Linked DNA regions of Homo sapiens: region 2 is linked to region 1. The links are contacts of gene promoters, found by promoter capture Hi-C in human tissues and cell types (Jung and others, 2019). All regions are on one chromosome and are shown on one strand. The core of a region is centred on a gene start or on the middle of the fragment in contact, and the rest is flanking DNA. Distances in the headings are between cores, read along the strand shown. Region 1 holds the start of DCXR (dicarbonyl and L-xylulose reductase). Region 2 has its middle 7.9 kb from the start of ACTG1.

What was found. Contacts are between HindIII fragments. The study calls those that stand out against the background at their distance.
Region 2: a fragment that was not itself captured here is called in contact with the fragment with the promoter of DCXR in region 1 in 1 of the 25 tissues and cell types used here (spleen).

What each region holds. Positions count from the first base shown.
Region 1 is chr17:82,036,346-82,038,946 of GRCh38, forward strand. It overlaps DCXR (dicarbonyl and L-xylulose reductase), which reads right to left and starts at 1,352. Exons shown (of 8, transcript NM_016286.4): 1 at 1,286-1,352; 2 at 1,105-1,202; 3 at 514-668; 4 at 376-418; 5 at 199-298; 6 at 39-103. The coding sequence starts at 1,337. It overlaps DCXR-DT (DCXR divergent transcript), which reads left to right and starts at 1,573. Exons shown (of 2, transcript NR_159948.1): 1 at 1,573-1,923. RefSeq lists a silencer at 743-1,572. The HindIII fragment of the contact is 8,854 bases long and covers 1-2,601 here.
Region 2 is chr17:81,501,993-81,507,759 of GRCh38, forward strand. No RefSeq gene overlaps it. Among named protein-coding and RNA genes, the nearest start is that of ACTG1, 7.9 kb to the right of the region's middle. The HindIII fragment of the contact is 9,311 bases long and covers 1-5,767 here.

The sequences.
Region 1 (2,601 bases), core at 102-2,601:
GTGTCCTAGGTTGGGGGAGGTACCCCAGCCCTGCTCACCTTGTGGGGCCCGAGCTCTAGGGCCATCACCTTGGTCAGCATGTCCAGGGCACCCTTGGTGGAGCCTACGAAGAGGAACCCAAGCTGGCTGGGGCTGGGGTCGGTGATGAGGGCGAGGCTGGGGCTGGGGTGGGGCTGAGGGCACAGCTGGGGCACTCACAGTAGACGCTATGGTTAGTTACTGCCCGCTGGGAGCACTGGCTGGAGACATTCACGATGGCCCCTGGGACTCCCCGGGCTATTAAGCCCCTGGCCACAATCTGGAATCGCAGCGAGACCGTGAGGCAGAGCTGGCATCACTCACGAGAATTCCCGTCCAGCCCACAGGGCAGCTCACCTGCGACACCTGGATGACCGCACGCAGGTTCACCTCAAAGGATCTAGAGGCCGAGGGACAGACCCTGGTCAGAGATTAGGGCTGCTGCGTCCTCCAGGACAGCCCCTCCCTGAGGTTCCTCCGCCCTCACAGGCTCACCTGTCAAAGGCCTCCTTGGTGACCTCCAGGAAGGGCTGCAGCAGGGCGACAGCGGCGTTGTTCACCAGCAGGTCCACGGGGCCCACGCTGCCCAGCGCCCGCTCGGTGGCCTCCCAGTCACCCAGGTCCACGCACACGGGTTCTATCCCCGGGCACTGTGTGTATCAGGGGGCAGTTACCAGAGGCTCTGTGCCCAGCAAGCGGCACAGCTGGGGACTGGGGCTGGTGACCTTTCAGCCGGACAAGTAAAGGAGTTAGGAGTTCCGAAGGTGTCGGGACTGTGGGGCCAGCAGCCGGGCGCTACCTCCGGCCGGTTCACTTCCTCCCTGCGCCCGAGCGACTCCTGCCCGGGGCCTGCTTCGCAGCCATTTCGGCCTCTTTCTGAGCCCGGGGGCCCCGGCGGCTCTGCCGACCACCCGGCCGCCCACGCAGGCCACCAGCCCCGAGAGAGGGTGCGCGGGCGCCCAGGCCGCGGTGAGAAGCGCAGCGCCCGCGAGGGGAGGCGGAGTCGCGCACAGAGGTACCGCCCCCGCTCGCTGCCGCCCCCTCCTGGCTCGCCGCCTCGCAGCGCTGGGACCCGGCGGGACCTACCTCGCGGACAAGGCTGTCAAGATCCGCCTGAGTCCGGCTCACAGCCACCACCCGCGCGCCCGTCGCGTGCAGCGCCTGGACCGTGCCGCGCCCTATACCTGCCGGGAGCGGGCTCAGTGAAGGCGTCCCCTGCCCGCCTCTGCCCGCCGCCGGCCTTTGCCCACCTTTCCCCGCCGCCCACCTTTGCCTGCCCCGGTGACCAGCACCCGGCGGCCCGCGAGGAACAGCTCCATGTCGGCGCAGTCTCCGCCCTCCGCACTGGGGCTGCGGAACTTGAAGCTCTGGCCACGATGGGCGGGGCGCGGCGGGGCCAATGGCAGGGCGGCCTTCAGATAGGCGGTGGGGACATTCAAATAGCTGCTCCCCGCTGCAGTGATTGGCCGAAAGGAGTGGGCGCGCCGGGGCGGGGCGGGGTCTCCGCTGCCTCAGGGACGGGTCTTTTGAAGTGCCTGGTGTGACCCATCTTCCGTGCTTGAAATCGACGTAGTGGACCCTGGCTAGCATATTTTTCCCTGCCAAGATTATTGCAAAAAGACGATGTGGTGGTTAATATCGGAAAGAATGTGTGGTTAATATCAGGAAGAACACGTGAAATGGAGAATTTCAGGGCTAACATTTCTTGTTTTGTTTCTGAAAACATCGGCATGTCCTAAAAAGTGTCGCCTGTGCCCATCATCTCTCAGGCTTGGGAGCAGGACACCGCCGGCTCACTTTAAAGCCAAGGGAAAGAATTTGGACAACCAACTACGTCTGGAGAAGACACCAATGTCAGCAGAGCTCCGCTTTCATCTGTGGGCGAAGGATTACCTAGATGCCAAGGCAAGAGACTGAAGACACAAACTGTTTCAGTATAACAAAGAAAATAGGCCGGGAGCGGTGGCTCACGCCTGTAATCCCAGCACTTTGGGAGGCCGAGGCGGGTGGATCACGAGGTCAGGAGATCGAGACCATCCTGGCTAACACGGTGAAACCCCATCTCTACTAAAAATACAAAAAATTAGCCGGGCGCGGTGGCGGGCACCTGTAGTCCCAGCTACTCAGGAGGCTGAGGCAGGAGAATGGCGCGAACCCAGGAGGCGGAGCTTGCAGTGAGCCGAGATTGCGCCACTGCACTCCAGCCTGGGCGACAGAGCAAGACTCCATCTTTAAAAAAAAAACAGTTAAAATAAAAATAGTCATAATACAAATTAGATATAAAAATGATCATGATCATGGATAATTATCAATCATTAGTATAAACATTATTAATCATTAGCTTTTAATATTACTCTTTGTTGCATTACTAATATAACCTAGGGACATTGTGAGAAGTGACCTAGAAGGCAAGAGGTGAGCCCTCTGTCACTCCCGCATAAGGGCTGCTTGAGGGCTCCTTGGTCAAGCAGTAATGCCGTTGTCTGGGAAGCCACCCGTTACTTAGAAGACTGCGAAGGGGAGTCTCCTTTCCTTGGAGGCGTCAGGGAACACTCTGCTCCACCAGCTTCTTGTGGGAGGCTG
Region 2 (5,767 bases), core at 1,967-4,466, 530 kb before region 1:
TGAACATGTGGTAATAGAGGCACAGCTTTGTGACGTAATGACTGTACACTTCAACACCATTAAAATGATCAATTTTGTGTTATGCATGTTTTACCATAATCTAAAACAAATTTTTTGGGGGGCTGGGCGTGGTGGCTCACACCTGTAATCCTAGCACTTTGGGAGGCCAAGGAGGGTGGATCAACTGAGGTCACGAGTTCAAGACCAGCCTGGCCAACATGGTGAAACCCCATCTCTACTAAAAATATAAAAATTATCTGGGTGTGGTGGTGGATGCCTGTAATCCCAGCCACTTGGGAGGCTGAGGCAGGAGAATCGCTTGAACCCAGGAGGCAGAGGTTGCAGTGAGCTGAGACTGCACTATTGCATTCCAGCCTGGGCAACAGAGCAAAAACTCTGTCTCAAAAAAAAAAAAAAAAAAAAAAGAAAGAAATTTTTTTTTAATCCTGCATATCGGGGAGGGAGATGGACGAGTAACAGAGGGTGGAAGTGGAGGAAGGCGTGCTTCCCGGGAGAGGACTGGGCTGTGTGGGGATGCTGTGGACGGCTGCACAGGTGGTGCACTGCACAACTGCAGGGGATGCCATTCACATAGACCATGATGCTGCATCATGTGTGAAGTATGCACCACGGCAGTCCTCTCTGGAGGGCACCCTGAGAAGGGCCGCCAGCAGGGAGCTGGACAGCACGGGGACACATCCTTTCCAGCAGGAAAGGATTCCAAACGACCACCAGCAGGCGGGCAGGCCAAGCATAGCTGAAGGGAGCCATGGGAGGCCACGAGGTGCTCTGTGTACAGCAGGCAGCCCCAGCACTTGGCCCACGTGCTGCACAGAGGAAAACACCTGCCCACAGCTGTCTCTGGCTCTGATGTTTAGGACCCACCTCCAACCAAGCAAGGGTCCTGTAAGTCAGAAAATCTCTCAGTCATCGGAGCCAGGATTTGCCAACGTGAACCACTGAACTTCCCCCTTGGTCTCCATCCTCTATGAAAACATGAAAGGGGTTTGAAATTGCATCCAATAAACACAATGTCCATCTCCTGCCGGGGAAAATTGGTCTGGGTAGAGGGATGCCGGTGGTGTGGACAGGCTCTGAAAGCTGCAGGAAGGCTCGGCTTGGAGAACATCCTCCACCTCTGCCTACCATCAGGACCCAGGGATCCTGGGGAAGGGGAGCCCTTTCAGGAGTGCCCTGAAGTCCCCCAGCACGTGTGACACTTCTCAGAGCAGGCATCCCTTCCAGAAGTTTCTGTTAACTAAGCTGAATGGCATTTAAGATATTGAAAACAGGCTGGGCGCGGTGGCTTACACCTGTAATCCCAGCACTTTGGGAGGCCGAGGCGGGCGGATCACGAGGTCAGGAGATCGAGACCATCCTGGCTAACACTGTGAAACCCCGTCTCTAGTAAAAATACAAAAAATTAGCCAGGCGTGGTGGCGGGCGCCTGTGGTCCCAGCTACTCGGGAGGCTGAGGCAGGAGAATGGTGTGAACCCAGGAGGCGGAACTTGTAGTGAGCCGAGATCGCGCCCCTGCACCCCAGCCTGGGCGACAGAGCGAGACTCCATCTCAAAAAGAAAAAAAAGGAAGGATAGAATTAGAAAACCATTAACCAGGCGTGCTGGTCCTAGCTACTAGGGAGACTGAGGTGGGAGGATTGCTTGAGCCCCTGAGGTCAAGGCTACAGTGAGCCTCTATTGCCACTGCACTCCAGCCAGGGTGACAGAGCAAGACCCTGGAAAGAAGAAAAGAAAGAAAGAAAGGAAAGAGGAAAGGAAGAAGGAAAGCAAGCAAGAAAGAAAGCAAGCAAGAAAGAAAGAGGAGAAAGAAAAGAAAGAGAGAAAAAAGGAAAGAAAGAAAAAAGAAAAAGAAAGAAGGGAGGGAGGGAGGGAAAGAAAGAAGGGAAGGAAGGAAGGAAGGGAGAAGAAAGGGAGGGAGAAAGGGAAAGAAAAGAAGAAAAGAAAAGAAAAGGCCAGGTGCAGTGCCTCATGCCTGTAATCCCAGCACTTTGGAAGGCCAAGGTGGGCAGATCACCTGAGGTCAGAAGTTCAAGACCAGCCTGGCCAACCAACATGGTGAAACCCTGGCTCTACAGAAAATACAAAAATTAGTGGGGCATGGTGGTGGGCACCTATAATCCCAGCTACTTGGGAAGCTGAGGCAGGAGAATCGCTTGAACCCAGAAGGTGGAGGTTACAGTGAGCCGAGATCACACCACCGGACTCCAGTCTGGGCAACAAGAGCAAAACTCCATTAAAAAAAAGAAAGAAATAGGCCAGGCGCAGTGGCTCACGCCTGTAATCCCAGCACTCTGGGAGGCCGAGACAGGCAGATCACGAGGTCAGGAGATCAAGACCATCCTGGCTAACACGGTGAAATCCCATCTCTACTAAAAATACAAAAAAAAAATTAGCCAGGCGTGGTGGTGGGCGCCTATAGTCCCAGCTACTCAGGAGGCTGAGGCAGGAGAATTGCTGGAAACTGGAGGCGGAGGCCGCACTCCAGCGGCGAGAGAGTGAGACTCCATCAAAAAAGAAAGGGAGGGAGGGAAGGAGGGAAGGAGAGAAGGAGGGAGGGAGGGAGAGGAGGAGAGGAGAAAAGAGGGAGGGGAGGGGAGTGGAGGGGGAGAATAATTTGTAACCACTAATGAAATAGCAGGTCCTGGCAGGGATTTCCAATGGCTGCTAATATCACAACATCAGGCTCTGTGGGACTCTTTCCCTCTCCATGAAGTTGCACCCACCCTGTGGTCATCTTCTTGCTAAAAAAATCAACCTGAATGAGATTAAACAGACCAGTTTGGACATTTACACCTAGAGCTAACTGACTATAGGAAATATAAGGGTTGAGGAACGTGCCACATCAACCACAAGGACGAAATCAGCAAAATCCAGACAGGTGGAACCCTTTGGAACAAAAGACCTGCCTTCTTCCACAAATAACCTGAAAGGAGAAAAATGAAAGAGGGTAAATCCCGCGGTTAAAAGAGATTTAAGAGACATAGTGGCCAAGTGCAATGATTGGAAACCAACCGTTAAAAGAAATTTAGGTGGGTCGCGGTGGCTCACGCCTGTAATCCCAGCACTTTGGGGGGCCGAGGCGGGTGGATCACGAGGTCAGGAGATCGAGACCATCCTGGCCAACACGGTGAAACCCCGTCTCTACTAAAAATACAAAAAAAATACAAAAAAATACAAAAAAAATACCCCGTCTCTACTAAAAATACACCAGCCGGGCGTGGTGGTGGGCGCCTGTAGTCCCAGCTACTCGGGAGGCTGAGGCAGGAGAATGGCATGAACCCAGGAGGCGGAGCTTGCAGCGAGCCGAGATCACACCACTGCACTCCAGCCCGGGTGACAGAGTGAGACTCCGTCTCAAAAAAAAAAAAGAAAGAAATTTAAGGCTGGGCATGGTGGCTCACACCTGTAATCGCCACATTTTAGGAGGCTGAGGTGAGAGGATCTCTTGAGACCAGGAGCTTGAGACCAGCCTAAGCAACATAGGGAGACCCCATCTCTACAGAAAGTTTAAAAATTATCTGGGCATGGTGGTGCACGCCTGTAGTCCCAGCTACTCAAGCGGCTGAGGTGGGAGGATTGCTTGAGCCTAGGAAGTCGAGGCTGCAGTGAGCTGTGATTGTGCCACTGCACTCTAGCCTGGGCAACAAAGCAAGACCCTGTCCCCCCAAAAAAACAGACAAACAAAACAACAACAAAAAATTTAAGACAACCAAGGAAATTTGGACATTAGATGATACTAAGTATCGATCAATAATTGGTGGGTGGGGGCATGATACTGTGATTTTTTTTTTTTTTTTTTTTTTTTTGAGATAGAGTCTTGCTCTGTCACCCAGGCTGGAGTGCAGTGGCTCAATCTCGGCTCACTGCAACCTCTGCCATGTGGGTTCAAGCAATTCTCCTGCCTCAGCCTCTGGAATAGCTGGGATTACAGGCGCACGCCACCATGCCTGGCTAATTTTTGTATTTTTAGTAGAGATGGGTTTCACCATGTTGGCCAGGCTGGTCTTGAACTCCTGACCTCGTGATCCGCCCGTCTCGGCTTCCCAAAGTGGTGGGATTACAGGAATGAGCCACCGCGCCCAGCTTGTGGTTGTTTTTTCAAAAAGAGTCCTAGGCTGGGTGCAGTGGCTCATGCCTGTAATCCCAGCACTTTGGGAGGCCTAAGCAGGAGGACCATTGAGTCCAGGAGTTCAGCCTGGGCAACATAGTGAGATGCTGTCTCCAAAAAAAACACAAAAGCAAACAAACAAAAGGCCATGGAGGAGGCCAATCCCCAGCTGTGCTGAGCCAGGATCAGATTCTCTCAGCCCCTTTCAGCAGCACCTGTCCTCCTCTGAGTCAATATATTGCTGTTGCAGCCGGGCGCGGTGGCTCATGCCTGTAATCCCAGCACTTTGGGAGGCCGAGGTGGACGGATCACCTGAGGTCAGGAGTTTGAGACCAGACTGACCAACATGGAGAAACCCCATCTCTACCGAAAATACAAAATTAGCTGGGCGCGGTGGCGCATGCCTGTAATCCCAGCTACTTGGGAGGCTGAGGCAGGAGAATCGCTTGAACCCAGGAGGTGGAGGTTGTGGTGAGCTGAGATTGCGCCATTGCACTCCAATTGGGCAACAAGAGCGACACTCCATCTCAAAAAAGAAAAAAAAAAGAAAGAAAAAGAAAAAGAAATATGGAACATAAAAGTTACCATTTTAATCGTTTAAAAGTGTACAGGCCAGGCGCAGTGGCTCACACCTGTGATCCCAGCACTTTGGGAGGCCGAGGCAGGCAGATCACCTGAGGTCAGGGGATCAAGACCATTCCGGCCAACATGGTGAAACCCCGTCTCTACTAAAAATACAAAAATTAACCAGGTACACAGGCACACGCCTGTAGTCCCAGCTACTCGGGAGGCTGAGGCAGGAGAATCGCTTGAACCCAGGGGCCAGAGGTTGCAGTGAGCCGAGATCACACCACTGCACTCCAGCCTGGCAACAGAGCAAGACTCTGTCTCAAAAAAAAGTGTACAATTGGCTGGGTGCGGTGGCTCACGCCTGTAATCCCAGCACTTTAGGAGGCCAAGGAGGGTGGATCACCTGAGGTCAGGAGTTCAAGACCAGCCTGGCCAACGTATCGAAATTCTGTTTGTATTAAAAATACAAAAATCAGCTGGGTGTGGTGGCACACACCTATAATCCCAGCTACTTGAGAAGCTGAGGCAAGAGAATCGCTTGAACCCAGGAGGCAGATGCTGCAGTGAGCTGAGATTGCACCACTGCACTCCAGCCTGGATGACAGAGCCAGGATGGTCTTGTTCTCCTGACCTCGTGATCTGCCAGCCTCAGCCTCCCAAAGTGCTGGGATTACAGGTGTGAGCCACTGCTCCCAGCAGTTTTTTTTTTTGTTTTTTTTTTTTTGAGACAGGGTCTTGCTCTGTCATCCAGGCTGGAGTGCAGTGGCTCAATCACAGCTGACTGCAACCTCAATCTCCCCAGGTTCAAGTGATCCTCCCACCTCACCCTTCTGAGTAGCTGGGTTACTACAAGCGTGTGCCACCAGGACAGGCTAATTTTTTGTATCTTTTGTTGTGGGATTTTGCCATGTTGCCCAGGCTGGTTTTGGACTCCTGGGCTCAAGCGATCTGCCTGCCTAAGGCTCCCAAAGTGTTGGGATTACAGGTGTGAGCCATCATGCCCTCACTGTCACTATTTTCCTTTTTTTTTTTTTTTATTTTTTGTGGCCATCCTACTGGATGTGAAGT